Linked DNA regions of Homo sapiens: regions 1 and 2 are each linked to region 3. Evidence: promoter capture Hi-C in 16 types of primary human blood cells and fetal thymus (Javierre and others, 2016). All regions are on one chromosome and are shown on one strand. The core of a region is centred on a gene start or on the middle of the fragment in contact, and the rest is flanking DNA. Distances in the headings are between cores, read along the strand shown. Region 1 holds the start of KLHL25 (kelch like family member 25). Region 2 holds the start of MIR3175 (microRNA 3175). Region 3 holds the start of TICRR (TOPBP1 interacting checkpoint and replication regulator).

Evidence for each region. The method cuts DNA at HindIII sites, captures the fragments that hold promoters and counts their contacts. A CHiCAGO score of 5 or more calls a contact.
Region 1: a contact is called between a fragment that was not itself captured here and the fragment with the promoter of TICRR in region 3, in 1 of 17 cell types (fetal thymus). The highest score is 5.3, in fetal thymus.
Region 2: a fragment that was not itself captured here is called in contact with the fragment with the promoter of TICRR in region 3 in 1 of 17 cell types (fetal thymus); the score reaches 7.1 in fetal thymus.

The regions. Positions count from the first base shown.
Region 1 is chr15:85,792,081-85,795,541 of GRCh38, reverse strand. It overlaps KLHL25 (kelch like family member 25), which reads left to right and starts at 617. Exons shown (of 3, transcript NM_022480.4): 1 at 617-776. RefSeq lists silencers at 427-496, 647-946. The HindIII fragment of the contact is 922 bases long and covers 1,522-2,443 here.
Region 2 is chr15:92,903,317-92,906,813 of GRCh38, reverse strand. All of the region lies in intron 2 of CHD2 (chromodomain helicase DNA binding protein 2), which reads right to left. MIR3175 (microRNA 3175) reads right to left here and starts at 2,415; the gene lies at 2,339-2,415. RefSeq lists enhancers at 2,122-2,361, 2,642-2,821, 1,683-2,882 and a silencer at 2,522-2,571. The HindIII fragment of the contact is 5,562 bases long and covers 1-3,497 here.
Region 3 is chr15:89,573,592-89,576,932 of GRCh38, reverse strand. It overlaps TICRR (TOPBP1 interacting checkpoint and replication regulator), which reads right to left and starts at 1,464. Exons shown (of 22, transcript NM_152259.4): 1 at 693-1,464. The coding sequence starts at 1,346. RefSeq lists an enhancer at 537-1,065 and a silencer at 1,187-1,476. The HindIII fragment of the contact is 7,754 bases long and covers 1-1,656 here.

The DNA.
Region 1 (3,461 bases), core at 733-3,232, 3.8 Mb after region 3:
GTCCAGGAAACGTTCCTGGAAGAAATTATTGGATGGATGGATGAATGAATGAATGAACGAACATTTAAAGGCTGGCTTACGAAAGGAGTTTAGTGAGAAATGACACAGAGAGGAGAGCTGAAATACTCCAAAAAATACAGATTTCAAGTACAGGTGGGGTTTGGAGGCTGCAGAAAGTCCCAAACATTCAAACAAGCCCAGAGTGAAAGACAGGGTTTCATTAACACTCGGGCAACTACTAGTGTGGCTCTGAAGAGTCTAAAGAGATCTACAACACTTGTGACCCGAACACAAAAGAGGCATATGCAATCTACAGTGCTCCCTCTGGAAAGCTCTAGAACACCGTCGCGTTTTGTTCCCAAACTTGGGCGGCGGGGTTGGGCAGGCGCCTGTCTCTTTAAGAATCTGGTCGAAGTCCTTTTCCTCGCCCCGCCCCGCCCCCGGTCCCCCCCCCTCCCCGCCCCCGGCCCCCCACCCCCCGGTGCCGGCGCGGCCTGGGGCCCACCCCCTTCTTTTCTGCGGCTGCACTGAAGGGTTCGGCTGCCCATCCGTCACAGAGGCGATGCCTCTGATTGGCTGCTGCTCTTCGGGCCGGGAGGCGGGGCGGGAAGGCCGGAGAAACTAGTTTGTTGGCGGCGCCTAGGCTGTATCGCAGCGAGAGCGTTTTTGCCTGTGGAGAGCCGGCCGACGGGAGCCGCGGCGGAGCCTGTTGAGCTCGCGCGGGCTGCCGGGAGTGGTCTCTGAGGCGGCGGCGGCGGCGGGGATCGTCTCCGGCAGTGAGTATCCAGGCCGGGCGGGGACGCCGTGCTCTGGCCGCAGCACCCGCGCCCCCGCTCCCTGCGCTGGGGACTCACCACCCCGGGCCGGGCCGGGACCAAGCGCTCGGAGCCCCCGCGGGACTACGTGTCCCGGGAGGGGGCCCCGCGGCTGGGGCCGGGGCCCTGGGACAATGGTGGGGAGCGGCGGCCGGCCGGCACCCCGCGGCTCCGCGAGGGAATTCGCCGAGAGCTCTGCGCGAGGGAATGAATTGTTTGGCAAATGGATGTTGCGCGCGGGAGCCGCTACTCTTTCCCCAGGGAGTGGTTGATTCATTGAGTCCGCAGACTCTTTTTTTTAAAAAATTACTATTGATCCTGGAAAGAGAGACTGCTTGTCTTTGAGGACGCGAGCGGCGATGCCCCGCGCCTTGGACGCCCAGGCCGGATGGCTGCCTGCCTGGCGCAGAGCGAGGGCCCGGGGTTCACAAGGGGAGGGTTTGCGCGGGCCTGGCCGCGGAGCCCCGAGCCGTTCACGTTCCGCCTGCCAGGGTCCCTCGTTTCGGTTTGCAGAACTGTCCAGCGGCAGAGAAAGGTCGCACTCAAAGGCACACCCACCTGTCCACCTGGGTGGCGGCCAGACTGGCAGGTCCAGAGCAAGCCCTCTAGCCTGACTCTAATTACCACACTTGCCCTGGCTCCGAGACACACCGCGCGATGTTACGCCCCCACTCCCCCTGTCTCTTTCGTAGTTGCTTTAGAAGCTTTTCTCTTGGGGGATTGTGCCCGGGAGATACCAGATACTTTTTTTGTGTTGCTGCTCTAAGCCCCCAAAGTGCATTCCCATTGTCTTTGAACAAAGAAACATCTCTCTAGAGGCCTGACCCAACGAACTGTGGGTGAGGGGGCGGACCCAGGCCCCTGCAGATTTAATCTGGACGCTCTTGGGTCCTGCTGGATCCCGGTGAATTTGACCTTGGGGAAGGCGGGCTGGACTTTGACTCTCCTCGGTAGTCAGGGCAGAGAATGCCAGGTGTCTGGACCATTTGGTTCCACTCTATCGGCCCAATAGAGAGAGGAAGGGAAGGAAGTTAGCAGTAGCACCAGGAGAGGAGGCAGGATTCCACGGTCTGTATCCTGGACCAGATTCCAGTGACCGTTATGGGGCCAAGCCCTCTGGGACCCTGGGTCCCAGTCTCCCCATTCATAGGAGGAACTGATGCTCAGTGTGCTGATCTGAGCTGTGAGGATTCCTGGCATGTTGGTGAAGGCTTGCGTGGGGGTCTGGGGAAGAGTAGGACACAAAGTCTACCCCACCTCAGGGTCCATTTGGTGTCCCAAGACCGGAGGCTCTTGGGTCCACAAGCTGTGCCTGTGAAGGTTGACGTAGTCAGTCTTTTTCCGGCCTGGCAGCTATTTCAGTTTTGAGTCATTTGTCAGGCAGTGACTCCAGGGTGGTTGATAAAAGGGAGGTAGAAATGGAAGACACCTTCATCCTGGGGTCTTGGGCTGCAGTTGGATTTATGTATGTGGTGCGGAGAGAAGAGCTATAGGCAAATTGCATGCTCCACATCGGAAGCAGGTTCTGCAGCCCGATGCCCCTTAATAGCGTTTTAAATCTGCGGGCACCCCGTGTGGGCAGAAGAGAGCAGGAAGAAAAGAGAACAATTACCCAGTGAAAGCAAGCTTGGTTCGTCCCGTCTATCACTTGGGCGGGGGCGGGGGGAAGGGTAGGATGAGTGAGAGTGTTATTTAGTGGGTGGTTTGTGACTGATTGATTGATTGATTCATTGTTTGAACAGACTTGATTGGGCACCTGCTGTGTGCCAGGCCCTGAGTTAGGTGCTGGAGACTCTTCCTTTAGTGAGCACCTAGATGAGGGAGTGCTGGCACATGGATTAGGGGCCCTGACACATCGTAGTGATAGAGGCAGCAAGAGGAGAGAAGGAGACACAGGTGGGCAAGGCTTCCTGGGGAGAGGATGCCTTGACTAAGATGAGAAAGGCATGTCATCGCCCAGATTCGAGGTGTAGGGCAGCCACCTTTGTCCTGTCGCTCACCCACACTTCTCCCAGAGGCCCAATTCATTGCCAGCCTCAAGATAGGCACAGGTTGAGGCCATGGAGAATGCAAGTGGGAGGTGGTAGAAGGTTTGCTCTCGTCCGTAGTGTCTGGCCGCACAGTCAGCAGTCCAGCGCATTTGTAGGAAGCTGGATGGCTTCTGGATGCAGCCTCTCTTCTCTGGGGGTCCTGGGAGAACCTACCCCCTGGTCCCAAAGACCAGCCCATTGTCTGAGCCCCTAGTCCCTCTGTACCACCAGGCAGTGTAGGCATAGCCTGGCCAGTGTGGGCAGAGCTGGCACAAGAAAACAGAGTGGCCAGACACAAATGAATTGGTTGATTGAGATGCTGGTTTTCATCTAATGTGGTAAATTTCATAATTTAATTGCCTCAGCCAGCCAAGGCTGTTGAAGCATTTTCCTCACCAGGAAACACTTAGTTGGAACAAGCTGGGGGTAGAGGAGGGAGGTGCAGGGGAGGAGGGAGGAGGGAGAACTTAAGCATCCACAGCTTTCAGTCACAGCATCCCAACAGGACTTATCAATCAGCAGCTATCCCCAGCTGATGGAAGTCAGCCCAGCCCCTACAGTAGGTTCCAACCCCTTTCCTTGACCACCTCATTGCCATACCAACCTAAAGCTGTCA
Region 2 (3,497 bases), core at 583-3,082, 3.3 Mb before region 3:
ACAAAATACTCTTAGAGGAATTTTTTTTTAAGTTTCTTTGTTCAAGTGACACCATATCAAGAAAGCCAAGTTCTTCAAGGAAGCAAAGTTCTAAGGTTACCAAGAAGCAGCTAAAAACTAAAGGATCTTAAAAAAAAAAAAAAAAAAAAGATGGCTCATAGCAAGAAAAAATTTAATGGCTGACACAGAGCAGTCACTCAATTTTTATACCAGAAACAAACTTAGTGTATCAAATTTTATGGGAGAAATGATAGGAGTTTGGAAATACCAGGTGGTCTCAGGAGGTCTCTCATAACTGTCAGTTGTTTTATTTGGGGGTAAGGGAGAGTAAACTAATGATAAAATCTGTGAGTTTTAGTTAAAATTCAAATAAACTTCCAGATTCACTCCTCAAGCAATAACTTGCTACAACTGTCACAACCAAAAGTCTTTATCAAAAATATTATTTGCCCACCTTCCTCTGCTGACTTAATCTTTACAAAGATACTAACTCCCTAACGGCCAAATACTAGTTGGAAAGTGCATATTTTAAACGGCAAGGATACAGAGAGAGAGAGAGAAAGAGAGAGAAATCGATCAACACTCTTTTCTTGCTGCTTGATGCTATTCCCCACATCAAAGGGAAAAAAAGTAGAAGGCTCAACAAACATACCTAAGAACACTGGTTCTATAAAAAACTTAATTGGCTGCAAGATTGTCAACAGTTAATAGGTAAATTGTTATATCATGGTATGCATTTTAACTCATAATGGTATTTAGGTTAAAATATCTTAAATAACAGAATAGTTCATATCCTCTTCAAAAATAATTAACTGCAATGTTGACTACTTTGACCCCAGTTTTAGGAATTGAAAGGTATTCAGCAAATACTATTAACACAACTAATTAGAATTCAGTCTCTACACAAAAAGGGAGGTGAGATTATTACTTTCGTTCTTGTGGCAGGTATACTTTAAGTTGGAAGCTACAGTTAAACGTTCATCAAGTTCTATAAACACTTAATTCTCTGTTAGCATTTTATACGCAATATACATTTGAGCATATAATTTTAAAATCAGGTACAAATTATTTGATGAACACTTCTCTGTAACAGAAAAAGCAATTTCAGCTAGTTTTCACAAACTATCCAAATAATTCTTCCCAAAGAACCTAGATTATGAGAACCTACAAAACTCACTATCATAGTGAATTCTAACTTTCACAGACTGTATTCAGAAACTTGACATACGCCCAAGCAAATATCACCTGCACTGAAGGGTCAACATCTCCTTTGAAGTAACACACTTTACTAAAATAACTCTAAACTATGGCTAACTACAGGACAGCCTACTCCAACTGCTAAAAAAACTCTAGTATGGCAGGAAAAAAACTTTGTCCACAGTAGATAAATCCACTGAATTTCTTGCTTGCTTAAATTCAGTATGTGTAATTTAATTATTAAGACATCGTTGCTGAACGATGAAGTTTTAACCAGAAATCCTTGTAAAGGTTTCCAAACAAGGCAAATCAGTGAGCATAAACCCAACCGTTTACCGGGACTCAGAATTCCCGAAATGGAGGCCTAGGGAAGATAATTGCGAAGATTTGGCCAAGTGACCCCACTATCAGCCAAGCTGTCAGTCACCCTGCATTAGCAAGTGCTATTAACACTTAAAAGAGTAGTTTTCTGACATTTACTTACATAGTAATGGTTGCCTAACGCTGTATTCTGCCACTTTTTAATGTTATTGAACGTGAAATTTTCTATTTTCTACTAAACTATCCCACTGTGAATCTTAAATATATAGTACTTAGCACATACTGACCTGAGTTTTTCTCCATCAAATGCCAACTGAGAAAATGTACGGTACCAAGTAAAAACGCATGGGGACAAGTTCAAATAATCTTCCCTTTGTTTATGAGCCATGTATTAAACAGCTGTTAACACCCGTCAAGAGGTTTTCACTAAAATAAAAGTATCCGCCTCTGACACTCAAACGTTTTGGTCAATTGTAACAAAATTAAACCCACTCATCTCTTCACACTGAACGGGGGCGGGGAGAAGGGACGCTAAGGTATGAAAAGGGAAAATGTAAAACTGGGCAAATTTTCTATTTTAAGATTTCCAAATAGTGCCTTTAAAATTTATAAATAGTGCCTGCACTTTTTCTCCAAAAGCAGCCGCTTCTCAAAGAGGATAAACCATTCCCGGAAATGGGCAAAAGAACACACTACAGGGTGCGGACCGCTACAGGCAAGGGCGGACAAGACTGCCAGGAGCAAACGCGTCCAGGAAAGAAGCCGCCCACCGGAAAGTCCCAACTAGAGTTCCCTTCCTTTTCCCCTCGGCGTGCGGCTCCCTGGGTAGGGGGAGGAGAAAGCGCCCGACATGCGCACGCGGCCAGACGTCACTGCGTTCTCTCCCCGCCCCCCAGGGGAGCCGTCTGACGTCACGGGGCGGAGGCTGCCGAAGGCGCCGCCGTTGACCCTGCTGTTACCAGGCGCGCGCACAGCCAATCAGCACCCCGCGCCGGCGCCGGCCGGCCTTTGAACTCGGCACGGCAACTTCCTGCTGTTTGGCGAGTACACAGTGCAATGCAGTATGTCTGTCAGCGCTGCGGCACAAAGGAACAGCCATTTTGTGACTGAGCTGGACCTGCATCAAGATGCCAGGGGCTCAAAGAGCTGCTGCGTGCCCTATCGAACTGCCTTTTATGTCGGCACCAGAGTTCCCCAGAAGAGCAGAGAGGGGGAAGGAAATAGGCTTTGGTATTTCAGATTTCTATTAGTTTAGATTCAGTCTTCTCCAAAATCCCGTTTTTTAATGTATTATCAGCGTCATAAAATGGCTGCCAGTTAAACTGCCTGTTCTAGTACACAAGTAACTGCATTATGCCATTTCTAATCATCCCCAGCCTTTTAGAATATCTGGTAAAGCGCCCCTGAAAATTGTAGGATTTACCCGCACCTCAGGTTATAAAAATAAATCTGGCTCAAAGGCAGACGATTTGGAGATAAATTTAATAAACTCGTTCAATTCTTAAGATAAATTGCTAACGTGGTGCCGTGGAGAACACACTGAACTCTTTGTGTGCACACAGTCCCGTTTTCATTCTTTGATGTTACTTAAGTTATCCCCAAGCTGCAAATTATTCAGATAAAAAGTATGGTATACTTCTCGTATGTCCATCATTAGAACTTTGTTTTAAATACTTAGAAATTTTACAAATATCAATCAAATGTTTTTAAAATCGCGTTTTTTAAAGTTTTTAATTTTCAAAAATCGTGATAAAGTATAACAGACTTTAGCATTAACTTCAAATTAAAATACAAACTTATATAACCACTATTAACTACTGCACTATTTCCAAAAACAGGGTATTACCAGATTTACCTAAACTTGCACTCATTCTTTCCAGATACTAAAGTAATTCTCAGACCAAAGTTTACTTGACCTGCAAACTCATTTCCTCTTCTGTGGCTCAGGCTGCAAAGGTGATTTTCGTAGTATTCCCTAA
Region 3 (3,341 bases), core at 215-2,714:
GTCTCAAAAAATAATAATAAATAAATATATATATGTATATAAATAAATGTGTATATATATGTGTGTGTGTGTATATATATATATATATATATATATATATATATATATATACACACACACATACACACACACCCCTGGGTATTGTGTTAAAACCTGCTGCTTGCCTCTGAGGTATTTTTAGACTAGATGGAGGGTGAGAGATGTGCATAATCAAAACATATGGAGAAATGGTTAAGTGCCACACAAAATGTGTATGGCAATTCAGACGCTGGACTGAGCAGTTGTCACTGGGAGAAGAAGCCTTAAAGGGTAAGTGAAGTTAAGACTGGCCTGGAAGAGTGAGAACTGGCATTCCAGGCAGATTGAACAACACACATAACACAAAACAAGCAGTCCAGACCTGTTGATTTTCTGGACTGGACTTCAATATGCTAGAGTAGATGTAGTGTGTAGGAAAATCAAGTCTGGGAAGGCAGGTAGGGCCCAAATTGTGAGGGGTCTTAAACAGTAGGTAGTGAGGAACTACCCATTTTGTTGTGAAAACTGTTCCTATTTATTTGTTTCCTTCCGAAGGGACGCATAGTCATATTAGTCTCATTCGGGGTCTGTGGCTGTTCTAAGGACGCTGCCAAGTTCTGGTTAGCAAGGAAAGCACCGTGCACGCCATCTGAGACGACAGTAACCTTCCTTACCTTAGACCATTCGGTGGTATCCACCCAGTAGAAGGTGATTTTTCGGGCGACCATGACTTCCCGGACTCTCTTGGGCAACAACTTCTCCATCACCTGCTTAGGGGTGGGCGGCAGGCGCTGGGCCTGGGCCTCGCACCCAGACACGAACTGCAGCAGCTCCCTCTGCGAGTGCGGACAGGGGGCCAGGAGGAAGACGGCGTTCACCAAGCCCCCGAGCGCGGCCTCGGCCTCCTTGGCCTCGCTCTCCACGTCCAGCAGTCTCCTCCCGCTGCTCCGCAGGATCGGCTTCGTGGGCGACGTGATCTCGGGCCGGTCCCACTGGTAGTCTAGCAGCGTCTCCATCAGGGCGCCGTGCGTGTGGGTGGCCCTGGGCGCCGGGCCGGGCAGGTGGGCGCGATCCTCGAGCCTGGCCTCCAGCTCCTCCTCAAAGTCCTCCCACGAGCGGGACCCCAGCTCGCGGAAGTCAGACACGCGGGACGGCCGGCTCCGCGCCCCCTGCGAGTCAAAGAACTTGAAGGCCCAGTGGACCCTGGCCAGGCCGAATCGGCAACTCAGATAGGTGAGGAGGCGCAGGGCGGCCCGCCGGACCCGGCTGTGGCGGGCGGCGCCGCCCGCGGTGTCCAGCAGCAGCATTACTTTGTGACAGCATGCCATATCGGCCGTGCCGCCGCCCCGGGGCCCCGGTCCGGGCCCGCGCCACCGTCCCTTAGTCCCTTCCTTCAGGGAAACAGCACCACTCACTGCTTTCCTTTGGGACCCTGGTCGAAAGGCTCCCGCGCTCTCCAGGAACTGCTGCTATTGGGGGAGCTAGTTTCCAAGGTTTGCTCCTATTGGCTGCTTGCCTTACGTAAGTTACGAGAGCAACTTCCATTTTTGGCGGTGATTGGAGGGGCAGTGGAGAAAACTTCAGTCTGATTGGTGGAGGGAGTGACGGTGGGCGGGTCTCTGTGGTCCGAGAGAAGCTTAGCATTCATTGGCCTGGGCCTTCGTTTTAAATTTTAAAGAGGTGGTGCCTCGGGGGCGTGTCGAGAAGTTTCGCCATTGGAAAGAGGCCAGCGTTTGTGCGCAGTCGTGAGTGCGGACTGCGGGGCCACGTTTCCCAAGACCGAGGAAAACTTAGTGCCGGGAGGGAATTTGGGATGGTTTGAATCGAACTTGTTGAAATCCCTGTGGACCGCCTAGGAAGTAGAATCTGACGACTACGGCTTTTTCTGTAATTTAAAAAATTTTATTAAAAATTAAAGGTTCACTCCCTTTGCCCCAGTAACTTCTAGGAGTTTATCTGCAGAAGGTAATCGGAGAGCCAGATAAAAGACGTCTGTACATCTTAGAGTTTATTTAACATCAGAAAAAATGGAAACAGTTTGGGAATGGTTAAATAAGGTATGGTACACGCCCAAGGGGAGCATCGTGCAGCTCCTTTTTTTTTTTTTTTTTTTTTTTTTTTTTTTTTGAAACGGAGTCTCGCTCTGTCTCCTAGGCTGGAGTGCATTGACACGATCTTGGCTCACTGCAACCTCCACCTCCCGGGTTCAAGCGATCCTCCTGCCTCAGCCTCCTGAATAGGACTACAGGCGCACGCCACCACCCCAGACTAATTTTTGTATTTTTAGTAAAGACGGAGTTTCACCATGTTGGCCAGGCTGGTCTCAAACTCCTGACCTTGTGATCCACCCGACTTGGCCTCCCAAAGTGCTGGGATTACAGGCGTGAGCCACCAAGCCCGGCCTAGTGCAGCTTCTTAAAATAGTGTTTTATTATGTAATGTTAGGTTTTAAAAGTGGACTGCAAGCAGCACCTGCAGTGAATTCCCTAAATTTTCTATCTACATGTATATATAGATAGAAATCACATGTAGATTTGCATTACAGATAGAAATTATATATCGCTATATAGATAGAATACATAGAATTATATATAGATAGGCCGGGCACGGTGGCTCACGCCTGTAATCCCAGCACTTTGGGAGGCCGAGGCGGGCGAATCACCAGGTCAGGAGATCGAGACCATCCTGGCTAACACAGTGAAACCCTGTCTCTACTAAAAAAAAAAAAACAAAACAAAAAAAAAAGGAATTATATATAGATAGATAATCATAGATAGAAGTTATATATAGATAGAAATGCATTTATATGCATATTTTTAAACTGTTAATATAATATTGTGTACCGGAAGTTGTCTGTGATGGTCTCTCCATGTGATTTTTTTTGAAACTTTTTTACACTTCCTCTTGCTGGACACCAGTGAACAGGCTGATTTCAGAGATGTGAGATGTGCCTCTAGGATCAGTGGAATATGGTATTTGGAAAGAAGAAGGGGACAAAAAATGAAGGTCGGTTACCTGAATATGTGTTTAGGGAGATTGATCCAATACTCCACACCATTGAATTCTGCTTGCTAAGTAATTCTGTTTCCACCTGGAAACAGAACAACTTCCTTTATATGCTTTGGCTACAACTTCCTTTATGTGCCTTGGCTTCTCCAATCAAAGTCCTCAGCAATTACTGCCTCATGTACAACAATTTTCTCTTTTGGTTGAGTTTTCTAGGGCTGCCTGCCATAACAAAGGATCAAACCCAAAAATTGCCTCACAGTTCTGAAGGCTTGATGTCCAAAATCAAAGTGTTGGCATGCACTTGCTCCCCTCCA